Regions from separate parts of the Homo sapiens genome. Here region 2 is linked to region 1. Evidence: promoter capture Hi-C in 16 types of primary human blood cells and fetal thymus (Javierre and others, 2016). All regions are on one chromosome and are shown on one strand. Each heading gives the region's core, a stretch centred on a gene start or on the middle of the fragment in contact. The rest is flanking DNA. Distances are from core to core; before and after follow the strand shown.

Region 1 (6,519 bases), core at 2,724-5,223:
TCTTTCCTGCTCTCCTGCACTCTTGGTGAGCCTCCATGCTGGTGGCTTCAGGGCTCTGGCCCAGGCTCTCCTCCTCTCCCTCCACCCATCCCTTCTCCACAGAGACTTCATGCACACCTGGCTGTAGTTGCCTTTATCTCTGCCTGGATCTGGGCACCATCATTCACCTGCTCCCCTGGCATCTCCACGTGAATGCCTCAAATGCACTTCAAAACCTACCTAACACATGCAAAATGAGCTTAGGACTTCTGACCTCCCTACTACATACTTCCAGGCTCTTCTCTGGCGTTCCCTATCCAGAGGATGGTCCCACCACCCTATAAATTCATAGGCCAGAAGCTGAGAAATTATCCTTGACCCCCCTCCCTGCTCCTCAGTCTCACCTGCTGCTGCAGCGTTTTGTGGCATCTAGCTCACTGCTCACTTCTCAGTACATAAGTGCATGGCCCTAATGGCTTCTGAACACCTTCAACATACTACGCTGTCTTCACCTCACCCCTGCTCACCACACTCCAATGTTTCCCATTCCCATCACATCTCTCAACTTCTTGCTCTCTCACCAAAAACCATCAAATGGGGAGTTTTGGCACCTTCACCCTGGACTTCCCTGCCGCCTGGAAACTGCTAACATAGCTTCTCGAAACTGGACACCCTGTGGCTTCAGGGAGCGCCTTTGAAGCCCCTGGTTCTTGTCAGACCCCCCGGCCACTTTCTTGCTACCCTTCATAGGCAGCTTCTTCCTTAGTGAATACAGCTTGCAGCTCTGCATTCTGGACTTGATCCACTCCTTGTCTCCATGGGCTTCCTCTGAATACTGTACCCATCAACTCTCAACTCTAGCCCTGCTCTTCCCCTTGAGCTTTAGATGTGTCCCACAGGCACCTCCAATTGAATGAGGCCCACGGTGAACTCACCACCTTTCCCTCGTTGTTGCACCTCCTTCTTCTTCATGATCATTCTCAGTTGGTGCCACCACCTCATCAGCTGGGCTACTCACCCGCATCACTCTGGTCTTCCTTCTTAGCTCCCACAAATTGTCAGTCACCAAGGACTGCTCATTTCCATCCTGACTGAAGGTCTCTTTCCATTTTTGCTAGTATTGCTTCCAGTTAAGATCCTCATAATCATTCACTCATTTATTCCTTCGTCACTCAACAAATAAATATTTATGGAGCTCCTATTACGATTTAGCCATAATCAACTCACATGAAGCTTACCATTTTATGCTGAATCATGACATCCCATCAGACAGCAACCACACGGACCGTGTGCTAAGAGCTACGAAGAGCTAAGTTAGGATTCTGTGCAAGCATAAAGGAAAGGCACTCAATCCAGCTTTGTTAGGGAAGACTTCCCCGAGAAAGCCACGTCTCTACTGAGGAGGTGAGCAGGAGTTAGCCTAGGGAAGGCTGTTAGCTAGGGCCCAGACTGAGAGCACAGCGATAACAAAGCTTGTTGACATGAGAAAACCTCCAATCAGCTGGGATGGCTGGAGCAGAGAGTAAGATCAGGAGTGCAGACTTATAGCTGCGCTAACTTTACACAGGCAACTGGGGAGTCCCCAAGGGATGTTAGAAGGATAGAGTCAATGAGTGATGGCTTTTGGAGAGATCACCCTGTCTGCTATGTGAGAGGTAGTGACAGGACTTCTGGAGCTCAACAGGAGTTACGGAGACATCCTGGCAATCCAAAAAGCAAAGATGATGGCTTCCACGTTATGGTGGAAGAGGCTGGGAAACAACACAAAGGAGCCAGTTTCTAGAGAGGATTAAGGAGGGGGCTCGAGCAGGACTTGGTAACCGGTTGGCTGTTGGGAGGAGGAGCATTAACCTGTGACCCACAGGCAGGCACTGAGACAGCCTCTTTGGACTGGAATGTTAAGGAATGTCGCCTTAAGGCGCTAGCACTCAAGCTTTCTGCTCGTGCATCCCCTTGCACACTTTCTCCTTGACGTTCAGGCTGGGCATGGTGGCTGACGCCTGTAAACCCAGCACTCCCAGAGGCCGAGGCGGGAGGATGGCTTGAGCCCAGGAGATCGAGACCAGCCTGGGCAAGAAGGCAAGACCCCGTCTCTAAAAAACTTTAAAAAATAAAAATAGGCCGGATGCGGTGGCTCATGACTGTAATCCGAGCACCTTGGGAGGCCGAGGTGGGTGATCATTTGAGGTCAGGAGTTCGAGACCAGCCTAGCCAACATGGTGAAACCCCACCCGTACTAAAAATACAAAATAAGTAGCCGGGCGTGGTGGCGGGTGCCTGTAGTTCCAGCTACTCGGGAGGCTGAGGCAGGAGAATCACTTGAACCCAGGAGGCGGAGGTTGCAGTGAGTCGAGATCATGACAGTGCACTCCAGCCTGGGCAACAAAGTGAGACTCCTTCTCAAAAAATAGAATAAAATAAAATCAAAATAGGCCGGGAGCGGTGGCTCACGCCTGTAATCCCAGCACTTTGGGAGTCCGAGGCGGGCGGATCACGAGGTCAAGACACTGAGACCAGCCTGACCAACAAGGGGAAACCCCGTCTCTACTAAAAATACAAAAATTAGCTGGGCGTGGTGGTGCGCCCCTGTGGTCCCAGCTACTCGGGAGGCTGAGGCAGGAGAATCGCTTGAACCCGGGAGGCGGAGGTTGCAGTGAGCCGAGATGGCGCCACTGCGCTCCAGCCTGGGCGAGAGTGAGACTTCGTCTCAAAATAAATAACTAAATAAAGACCAATAACTGTTTCCCATAGGGTTATGTAGTTGCAAATGAAAAAATTACTGGCATGTACTGCCTCTGCATATGAAGCATAATTTTGTCAAGACCTTATACCTGCAGATTTAGCTCTTTCGATTAACGGAAAATGTCCAAAATCAGTCTCCTCCAACCTATTTGCCGAACTGGACTTACTGTCGCTGAGTAGACCGACCGACATAGCTTACACGTTGTTCAGCTCGCTTGTAAGCAAACACACGAAACCACCTCACCCCTGACTTCAGAAAGAAGCCGTCCCGTGAATTCCTCACAGATGAAATCAGGAGCTGCCCCTCAAGGACTCTATTTCTTCCTTCGGCTCTATCAAATATTTTAAGGTACTTCCCAGCAACGGAAACATGGGACCCTGCAATGACAGACTTCGCATTCCTCCTGAGCGGACAGGCAATAAGCAAGTAAACGCGCAAATACCCAAGTGCGGCCTCAACCCGCGCTCCTGCCGGGAGGGTCTCCAGTCACCGAGTAACCCCGGCCCTGCCCCGCGCCGCCGCCGGGACTCCGCCCCGCAAGCAAGTGGGGTCTCCTTTGTCCCGCGCGCCCTGGCCGCGTCCCGCCCTTCGGCGTAGCCCATGGGAGGCGCCCTGAGGGCAGGGCCCTTCTGATTCCCCACCTGGCCTCGAGTGAGGACGCGCTCAACAACATCTCGAGTAAAGCGGGGGAACTCGCTTCAACGCGCAGACAGCACAGCTCTCGCCCAGCCCGGTCTCGGGTCAGCCGTCTCTCCCTGGACCTCAGGGACACTAGCCCTGGAAGGCCGCCGGTCGGGAGGGGACTCCCTCCCCGTCTGAGGGGCGGCCGCGGACACCCGGCGCCTTTCCCCCGCCCCACCCCGTGCGGCCTCACGCAAACGACAGGAAAAAAGCTGGGACCTTCGCCTCCGACTCAGTGTAGACGTCGCCATCCCGGTTCCAGATTTCCGCGCTCCAACGCCTCCGCAGCAGCCATCTTGCCAGAGGGCCGACGCCTTTTGACTCTGGCGCCAACCCGTAGTGCGTGGTCGCCGCGAGGGGAGTTCTGCGCAAGTACGGAAGCTGAGGTTCCGCGCTTCCGGGAGGCCGTCCGCCCCGCCCCCTCGCGGGGGCGCTTCATTGGTCATCGGCTCGCGCTCTCGCGCTCTCTTGCTGTCGCGAGAGGTGCTGAGGGGCGGCCTCCGGTGCGCCTGCCCTCCCGCTCCCCGCCCCCGCCCCCGCCCCCGCCTCCGCCGCGGCCCCCACCTCTGCCTCCTTCTACTCGGGCGCCCCGGCGGCCGCCACCTCTCCCCAGCCCAGGAGAGGCTGCGGAGCCGCAGCCGCCCAGACCGCGCAGCGCGGGAGGCAGGTTCCGCACGGTAAGATGGCGGCGGCGGGCCCGGGCGGCCGGGCCGAGCGTCTCCCGGGGCCGGGCCGGGCGGGCAGGCGGGATGTGGCCGGGGTGCGCGCCGCCCCCGCTCTGGGGGCCTTGGAAGCGCCGGCGCTGGCAGGTGCGGAATTGGGGCGCGCAGTGAGTCCAGGCCCGGACGGCCGCCCCGCGCCGGTGCCCAGGGGGCAGTCAGGGCTCAGCCTCCAGGCGCGCGGCCTCAGGCGCTGGTGTTCTGGGGCGGTCCCGGCCAGCCTGAGGGGCGGCGGTAGCTGTCTCTGTGGAGGAGCGACGTCCGTAACGAAGTCTTTTTAATAAAATCTGCTGCTTTAAAGCAGAAACCGAGCGGGTGAGGATGTAAAGTGTGGCATGGAAAGTAGGAGTCTTCAGCACACGGGTGTTTTCTTCTGCTGAATCTTTTTATGCTGGAGTTTGAGACTACCGAGTTCTTCCTGCTAACAGGACTGGCCAGTTCTACAAAGTTGTTGCTTTTCATGGGCGCACGTAACTGCCCGGAGTGGAAGCGCTGTGAGTGCCGATCACCGAATGGGCCGAGAGAAAAGGTGCCTTTTCCTAGGGAGCTCTTAACGTTGGTCCTAGGGCCGGGCGCGGTGGCGGAGGTCGAAGTGGGCGGATCACTTGAGCCCGCGAGTTCGAGACCAGCCGTGGCAACAGCGAGACTCCCTTCTCTGCTAAAAATAAAAAAATTAGCCAGGCAGAGTGGTGCGCTCCTGTTGTCCCAGTTACTCTGGAGGCTGAGGTGGGAGGATCGCTTGAGCCCAGGAGGTCGAGGCTGCGGTGAGCCATGATCGCGCCACTGCCCTCCAGCCTGGGCGACAGAGCGAGGCTCTGTCTCAAAAAAAAAAGAAAAAGAAAATGAGTCCTTAAGTTACCATTAATTGTCGTGAATAAAAAGTTGGTCTCAGTGAGTTTTGCAGTTGACAACGAAAGATGGGTGTTCGTGTGTGACAGCGACTCCTGGTTTCTCCTCCACTTTACCTGCCGCTCCACATCAAGTTTTCTTCTGCTGGTGCCACTTTCTCTGCTTTACCTTCAAGGTTGGCATCCTCCAAGTAATGGCGATTCTCATTCCCTATCTACGCTCTTCCTATGGTCTTTGCTGAATTCTTGGCTTTAAATATCCCTGTGCCCCAGCACCGCCCCCCCCGCCCCTTATTTCACTAATTCATGTTTTCAGCTCTGAGCTCAGGATCTGTAATTCAGACACCTGCTTGATTTCTCCAGACGCATGTCTAATAGTCACGTCAAACTTGCCCTGCTTCTCAAACCTGTTCTTCTTCCAGTCCTTCCTCCTTATTTGTGGCCCCATCTTGCAGGGCCTCTCATGCTTGAAACCTGTGACCATCTTCTATTCTTCCCTCTCTTTTGTCCGGTAATCTGTCTAGCAGCAGCCATTGACTCTGGCCAAAGCATCTTGATCTCACCTTGCTCTCCATCTCTTCTGCCGATGTTCTCTCTCGCTTGGGTGTCTCCCTAAGGGACTGGCTGCTCAGATCTCACCACCCTGCATTCATCCCATTTTCAGCCAAGAGACCAAAGTTTTTTAATTTATTGAAACACTTTAGCAGTACTTCGTATAAAGTAGTATGTGTAACGTATGTATCAGTGGCAAAAGAGAAAGACAGAGTGGACGGTGGCGTGCCCCTGCCTGTCTCAGGTATCCACCCATTCTCCCAAAGCCGGAACAGCTGCCTCTGGGGCTTCAGCCATTTGCCCCTCCCACAGGTAACCCCCTCCTGAGTGTCAGCTTTCATGCCCTTATTTAAAAAAAAACAAACAAAATAGGTTTGCCACGTACATATTTGTTGCTAAAGCACATGTCATGTATTTTGTCTTGTTGTTCCTGATAAAACTCACGGCAGATTTGGCCTCTCCTGCAACTCTCTTTTTCTTTTCTTTTTTTTCTTTTTTTTTTTTTTTGAGACGGAGTCTCGCTCTGTCGCCCAGGCTGGAGTGCAGTGGCACCATCTCGGCTCACTAGAAGCTCCACCTCCCGGGTTCACGCCATTCTCCTACCTCAGCCTCCCGAGTAGCTGGGATTACAGGCATCTGCCACCATGCCCGGCAAATTTTTTTTTTTTTTTTGAGACGGAGTCTTGTTCTGTCGCCCAGGCTGGAGTGCAGTGGCATGATCTCGGCTCACTGCAATCTCCGCCTCCCGGGTTCACGCCATTCTCCTGCCTCAGCCTCTGGAGTAGCTGGGACTACAGGCGCCCGCCACCGAGCACGGCTAATTTTTTGTATTTTTAGTAGAGACGGGGTTTCACCGTGTTAGCCAGGATGGTCTGGATCTCCTGACCTTGTGATCCGCCCGCCTCGGCCTCCCAAAGTGCTGGGATTACAGGCGTGAGCCACCGCGCCCGGCCGCAACTCTCTTTTTTCATTCAGCATTGTTTTATGAGAGTCATCC
Region 2 (6,519 bases), core at 1,825-4,324, 690 kb before region 1:
TAAACCACACAGCAGTAAATTATGAAATATGGATTTGAACCCAGGCTCCAGGGTTCACACTCTTAAACACTACCCTGTACTGCCTTTTAATATCAAGATTTTCATTTAACATTTTCGTTTAGAATATTCTAATCATGCTGCATTACTCTGTGTCAGAATTTCGGGATTTTGCTACATATAGAACTAATAGACTTTCTTTTTTGTGAGCCTGAGTGTTTACAAAGCCATTTCATTTTTTCTGAAATAAAGTAATTTACCGTTTGACCATTCAGGATTTTGCCAGAATACCTTCCCTGCCACCCAGCTCCTTTGTTACTGGCAGATTCAGTGGTGGTCTCTGTGTGAAGAGGGAGGACTGAGGGGCATGGGTGCTGACAGGCGTACAGTCCAGACTCTGAGGTCTCCGTTCTGAGTTCAGTTCCAGGGGACTTCACACACTGCCTTAGAGTACACACGTAGGACATTTTTCTTCCACGCCTCGAGTGCGTTGAGAGGGTCAGACTCTGCTGTGTTCCACATGTTAATGAGAGGTGCTGTTTGAATGTGAAAAAAATGCCACTTGACTTTCATCCCAGTGTCTCTCCTCTGTGCCGTCCAGGAGATGCCAGCAGATGGGTCTTGGAATTTTTTTTTTTTTGAGATGGAGTCTCGCTCTGTCGCCCAGGCTGGAGTGCAGTGGCGCGAACTCGGCTCACTGCAAACGCGAACTCAGCTCACTGCAAGCTCTGCCTCCCGGGTTCACACCATTCTCCTGCCTCAGCCTCCCAAGTAGCTGGGACTACAGGCGCCCGCCACCACACCTGGCTAATTTTGGGTCTTGGATTTGTCATTAAAGCTTGCTCGACTTTTAAAGTTTTAGTACATTCAGCCAATTACAAAAGTGACATTTTGTATAAGGGAATTGTTGACACATTTTAGGTTCTTATGCTGTCTTCAAGCAGGGAAGCTGCCATCTCCTCAAGGTGATTTCTTTAATGTCCCCATGCAAGCCATGTCTTGTCTGGCCGTGCAGGCACAGCTGGCGCCGTGCCTTCCTGAGTCACAGCATCTTTGCGAAGGTGGTGCGCCAGACCAGGGCTCTTGGGTCCTGGGTGGGTTCCCACTGGCTCCTGCCTTCAGTGTCTTTGCCTGTAAGACGGATTACTATGTGGAATCTGTGAAAATATAACATCAAGTGTCTGATACGTTGTGGGTGCCTGGGCCGCCCTTGGCTCCAACACCTGCTGAAGCTGGAGCCTCTCAGCAGTGCAGCAGTCACACCCTCAGGTGTCCCGGGATCTTTGGGTGTGGGCTGATTTTCTCCTAGTCATTGTCATACTTCCTGTTTGGGTGTTGACATTTCGTTTAGTGTTTAGCACAGATTGTCAGGTACGAGGTTTAATTCCAATATGTAGTACATTTTCAGGTTGATTTATAACCTTATCTACACTGAAAGGAAGTCAGTATTTGAACATGACTGATTATTAAAAAGGACCGAAGTCCTGAGTTAATATGGTGGGTTCTGGTTTGATAGTTTAAATGCACTTTCCACATATGCTAGTTGATTTGTAAATCTGCTGTCATTTTTGCTTTTTCAGAGTGTTCTTGCTAGTGAGTTTCAGGCATGGTGTCCCGGCCTCTCAGGCTGCTGGTTTGGGCTAGGGTCCCACTGTGGAAGCGTGGTGGTGTCCCGGCCCACCTCTGCAGCTCTTGATAATAAAAGCATCTGTTAAATAGCTCACAGCACTGTTTGCGTGAACTTTTTGGCACTTCTTTCCTTTTCCTTCCAGATTCAGAAAAGAACTTGGGATCATTCAGCAGAATGTCACAGCATCCACATTCTTTCCGCTGGAGCTTCTGCTGATGCAAATCCTGTGACCTCTGAGTTGAGCTGAGTGGTGGAAGTGAGCTTTTATAAGGGACTGGATCTGAGACTCGTGCCTGATGTTTGTGGCTGTTTCTCTTTGCTTGCCTTCTGTTTTCAGTGGAACACTCGCTTGATGTATTTTGAGAAACAAACTCTGGGATCAGTCCTGTTGAGCTAGTGGCTGGCTCCATAGTTTGGGGCCTGAAGAGGTTCCCGCACCCTCAGGGCTTGTGGCGGTCATCAGGCCTCTCTCCTGGGTGTAAGGTGTGTACTTCTCACCTGCGCACTGAGGGCCTGGGGGCTGTGGCCCCGACGCTGAGGCAAGTCAGGGGTGGGAAGGGTCTGAGGGGCTCTTGGCTGAGCAGACACTGAGCACATTTCTTTATCAAAGGCGCTGGGACTGCAACCTTCAGGGGTGCCCAGAGAGCGCCTGTTGTGGGCTCATACGGGGAGTTCTTGGAGGAGCACCAGGCAGGGAGGACTGTAGTGTGTAGGGAGTTGTGTGGAGTTTTGGTTCCAGAAAAGACGGAGGCAGCTGTAGAGGAAGGAGGACTATGGTGTGGAAGTGAGTGCCTGTGCTTTGTACTGAATAAACCTAAGGCTGATCCAAGGCTGATCGTGAGAAAGAGCCCCCTGTAACCTGGGACCTTGTGCCACTGTGCTCGGCCAGAGAGCAACTTCCATTATTGCCTTAAAACTAGGGGGACTGTGATTCAGTGACATTTCGGTGACTCCGATAATGACGGCAGGTGTCAGGTGCGCACAGGGCGTGGGGCTACCCTCTTACTGTGAAAGAGGACACGGGCTGCGTCTGTGGTGGCGAGCTCCTGCGAGTGCCCTGGCTCTGGCTTGGCCTCTCTTGATGATGTAGCAGAGCTGGGAGTCTCGCTGTAATCATCACCCGTCTTCCAAGTAAGTCTCACCTGTGGGAAATGCTGGAACACCTGAGCGGAAGCAGAGCCAGGGCAGTGCCTGAGCTGGGGCCAGGGGAGGGGTCCCAGTGCAGAGGTGCCCGAGGAGCCCTAGCGCCTGCCCCGCAGCCCCTGCCCCGCAGCGCCTGCCCCGCAGCGCCTGCCCGGCAGCTCCGCCTCTTCAGTGGCTCGGCTGTCAGGGTAGAAGGCTCCTGGGTTAACATCATGGAGTTTTCACCCCTGCTTCTCATCAGAAAAGCTGGGGGAACTTTTTAAAAAGTGTGGGTTCAAGGCCCAGCCCCAGCTTCACTGAGCCTGGGTTTCCCGGGAGGGGCCCAGGAAGAGATGTGTTTAACAAGCTCGGGAGGGTCTGGGGTGGGTCCTCAGCGGGGAGTCCAAGTGCTGGAGGCCCACGGTGGGGTCAGGACCCTTTTTTAGATCAAGGACCCCTTTGAGAACTTCATGAATATGAATAATGTGGGTCATTATTCTGGGGAAAAAAATGAACGAAAAATTTTTTTTCCTGTTTTTTTAAATTTTTTAATTAAAAAAAAATTTTTTTTGCAGAGGGTAGGGGGGTTAGAGATTGGTGGTTTTCCCTGACCTTGGTTTGAAGCCCTGCCTGTAGGTGCTCAGGAAGCACAGTTGGCAGCCACGTGGGCAGGTCTGATGTTAGGGTGACAGGTTTCTCAGCACAGTGGACCCCATTAGGGCTGCACAGGATGAAGATGGGCACGATGGTGAGGAGGGCCTGGAGCTGAGGCCACAGAGAAGGAGGCGGCCAGAGGGCAAGGACGCACTCCAGCAAGCCAGCCACTCCTTGGCTGGGCAGGTGCCCTGGGGAAGGCCGGGAGCCCTGCAGGACAACAGCCTCTCACCTGGGTCACTCACTTCCCTTTGCTGTCTTAATTTTCCTCCCACTCCCTCACCGCGTCCTCCGCCTGCTGTGGCCCTTGCTGGGTTGTGAGATGTGGGTACAAGGTGTCTCCTTCTCCTCTAGCTGCAGCCGCAGGCTGGGCTCCTCTCGGGGCCGTTGGTTTTGATCATCAGAGATACACAGCGGCGGCGGGTCGGGGGCTGGCTGGACTGCTGCTGCCCTTGGAGTGCTCTCCCTGCCCTCCGGCATGGCTTTCTGAGAGCAGGGCGCCCGTGAGCTGTGGGGCATGCGCCCTGTCCATTGCCTTCCCACCCAGTCTCGTGGGCCGCATTGGAACAGCTTTTTATTGTGTTGCATAAGGAGAAGGTTGATTAAAACACATGTTTTTGTACGGAAGCGCTTGCATTCATCTTGTGTGTTTGGAAATACATCGTACTGCATTACAAGGTAATGTTCCTCGAGGTGCGTGGTGTATTTTTGGCAATTAATATTCCACAGGAAGCAGTTAAGTCAGCGACAAGACTTGAGGGAGTTGACTGTGGTGAGTGGGGCGCTAGGCTCCGCTTCCGGGACGTCGGGCCACACTGGCCGCGAGGCCCAGTGGGAAGGTTTGCCACTCCCCACAGCTGCTTCTTGGGACCAAGCCGGGCTCACCTTTGCCTGCCTCTCAAGGTCACCCTCTTGGCATGGAGAATGGTAAACAGTGGGGGTGCTGCTGTCTGCACAGTGGGAGAGGTTCACCTGCCTTTCTCAGTGTAGAAACTTCCTGCGTGAATTCTGGACTGATGCAGAGTCCTCATGTGCACCTGGCAAGTTTGCCTGGCTGGCACGCGTAGCACAGGGCCTTCCCGAGTCAGGGTTGAGCCATTCGTGTGTCCACGCTGGTGTCTTAGGATAAAGGGCTGAAATCTGTTCTTTTTTTTTTTTTTTGAGACGGTGTCTTGCCTCTGTCGCCCAGGCTGAAGTGCAGTGGCGCGATCTCGGCTCACTGCAACCTCCGCCTCATGGGTTCAAGTGATTCTTGTGCCTCAGCCTTCTGAGTAGCTGGGACTACAGGCATGTGCCACCTGTAATTTTTTTGTATTTTTAGTAGAGATGGGGTTTTGCCATGTTGCCCAGCTGGTCTTGAGCTCCTGACCTCAAGTGATCTGCCTGCCGTGGCCTCCCAAAGTGCTGGGATGACAGGCGTGAGCCACCGCGCCCGGCCTGAAACCTGTTCTTCAGCTAAGGCGTGTTACATTCTGTGTGGTGTTAGGGAGCTGGTTTGTGATGAGCCACGTAGAGCCCCACGCTAAGAAGAACCATACAGGCCTGAAGAAGGCGGAGAGGTTGTTCAGGTTAAAAAGCGCAGACCTAGAGCCAGCTGGTTCTGTGCTCAGAAGGGCTGTCTCCTGGAGCTTCTGATGCAGTTGGACTTAACCTTATTTGGCTAAAGGATCAAGAACCAGTGTTCAATAAAGGTCACTCTTGATTCCATCCCATTGCCACCAAAACACAGTGCATTTAAGGGCAAAGGCCTGAGCGGCCAGTCGTACGTGCCTCACTCGTGACGGGCTGCAGATGGTGACGAGGACAGACAGCCGTGCACATACCCCTTGTTAAAAAAGGTCATTGTTGTGAATGGCATATGACTTGTTTATTTGGTTCTAAATTTATACAAAATCTGTAAAAATAACCGTTAAGCTTTTACAATGACAGGAATATTAAGGCTTGATTTTTTTCCTCGACAATTGGCAGAAGGCGTGTTTCAGTGAGCACAGACGGAGCAATCCAGGGAGGTCTGGGAAGGAGGAATGGGGCCTGGCCTGGCGGTGTCCTTGACGGCCCTCCATCGTTGTGGGGTTGGTGTTTGAGAGGTAGCTGTGGCGCGGGGCCGGCTGCCATTCCCGCGTCTCCTCGCAGAGGCCTGGACCTGCGCCTGGGGCTGGCAAAGCCCTCTGCTCTCGCTGCTGCCGCCGCCTCCATCTTCCTCCACCCTCTGGTGGGGCTGGTCACAGGCAGGGCATGGTCCCATGATGGCTCAGCCCCATGGGGCCCCGGGACGCTGTGTCCAGGATGGGCGCCACTGCCGTGGGTGGCTGTTGAAGTGAAGTCAATTCAGCTGATTAGCATCCAGCATTCAGTTCTCCCTCACGTTTCAAGTGCTTGTAGCCACCTGTGGCCCATAGGGACGACACTGGACAGATGACATTTCCAGTGCCATGGGAGAGTCTAAGCTCAGCTCTGAAGCTGTGAAATGTTGAGTCTTTGTTTTAGTTAAGTTTTGTTTTTTTGCAAAAGAAACGAGATTGTGGCCTGGTGGCCAGCTGGGTGTCAGTGGGGTGAGGGCTTCTAGGCGTCCGGGTGATGCATGGGCTGAGTTTGCAAAGTGGATGTGTCAAGGCTGAAATGCTAGCTGAGAAGCATTGCCCACGCTAGGCTTGGACACGCAGGGAGGGATGAGGTGTCAGAGAGGCCCTGACTGGTCACTCCTGCCCCAGGGCTTAGAAGGTGCTGGGTGAAGAGAGCTGCGCCCCTGTCCCTCAGCCCCTGCCCCTCCCCCTCAGTGCCACACGGAGGTGCAGGCATCTCACACCAGGTTCTCCCTGGGTCCGTTCATGTCACAGCAGGCTTTGTCTTGCTGTCCATGATTTCATGTTCCCATCCTCCAGCCTTGATCCGGGAGACCTTTCTGTTCTTTAATTTCCACAGAGAGCTAATTCTGTCCTTAAACTTTGTGACTCTGATGCTCGTAGGTGACACTTGTTTCCCTTCCTGGTGCTCTGGCAACCTCGCAGTGTCATGGTGGCATCTTTCCAAGCATTTGAGTGGCCAGGTTAGGCCCTGCCAGGTCGCCGACTGCTCTGGGGAAGGAGAAGTCCTGCAGGGATGTGACAGTGGCTTTG

What was found. The method cuts DNA at HindIII sites, captures the fragments that hold promoters and counts their contacts. A CHiCAGO score of 5 or more calls a contact.
Region 2: a fragment that was not itself captured here is called in contact with the fragment with the promoter of GID8 in region 1 in 1 of 17 cell types (neutrophils); the score reaches 6.5 in neutrophils.

Annotation. Positions count from the first base shown.
Region 1 is chr20:62,934,174-62,940,692 of GRCh38, forward strand. GID8 (GID complex subunit 8 homolog) reads left to right here and starts at 3,974. Exons shown (of 5, transcript NM_017896.3): 1 at 3,974-4,080. It also overlaps a transcript of DIDO1 not described here. RefSeq lists silencers at 3,175-3,224, 3,495-3,544, 3,915-4,144, 4,215-4,344 and an enhancer at 4,040-4,708. The HindIII fragment of the contact is 7,388 bases long and covers 1,911-6,519 here.
Region 2 is chr20:62,240,552-62,247,070 of GRCh38, forward strand. The region is part of intron 1 of OSBPL2 (oxysterol binding protein like 2); the gene reads left to right. Among named protein-coding and RNA genes, the nearest start is that of OSBPL2, 5.3 kb to the left of the region's middle. RefSeq lists enhancers at 3,242-3,850, 3,851-4,458. The HindIII fragment of the contact is 4,482 bases long and covers 834-5,315 here.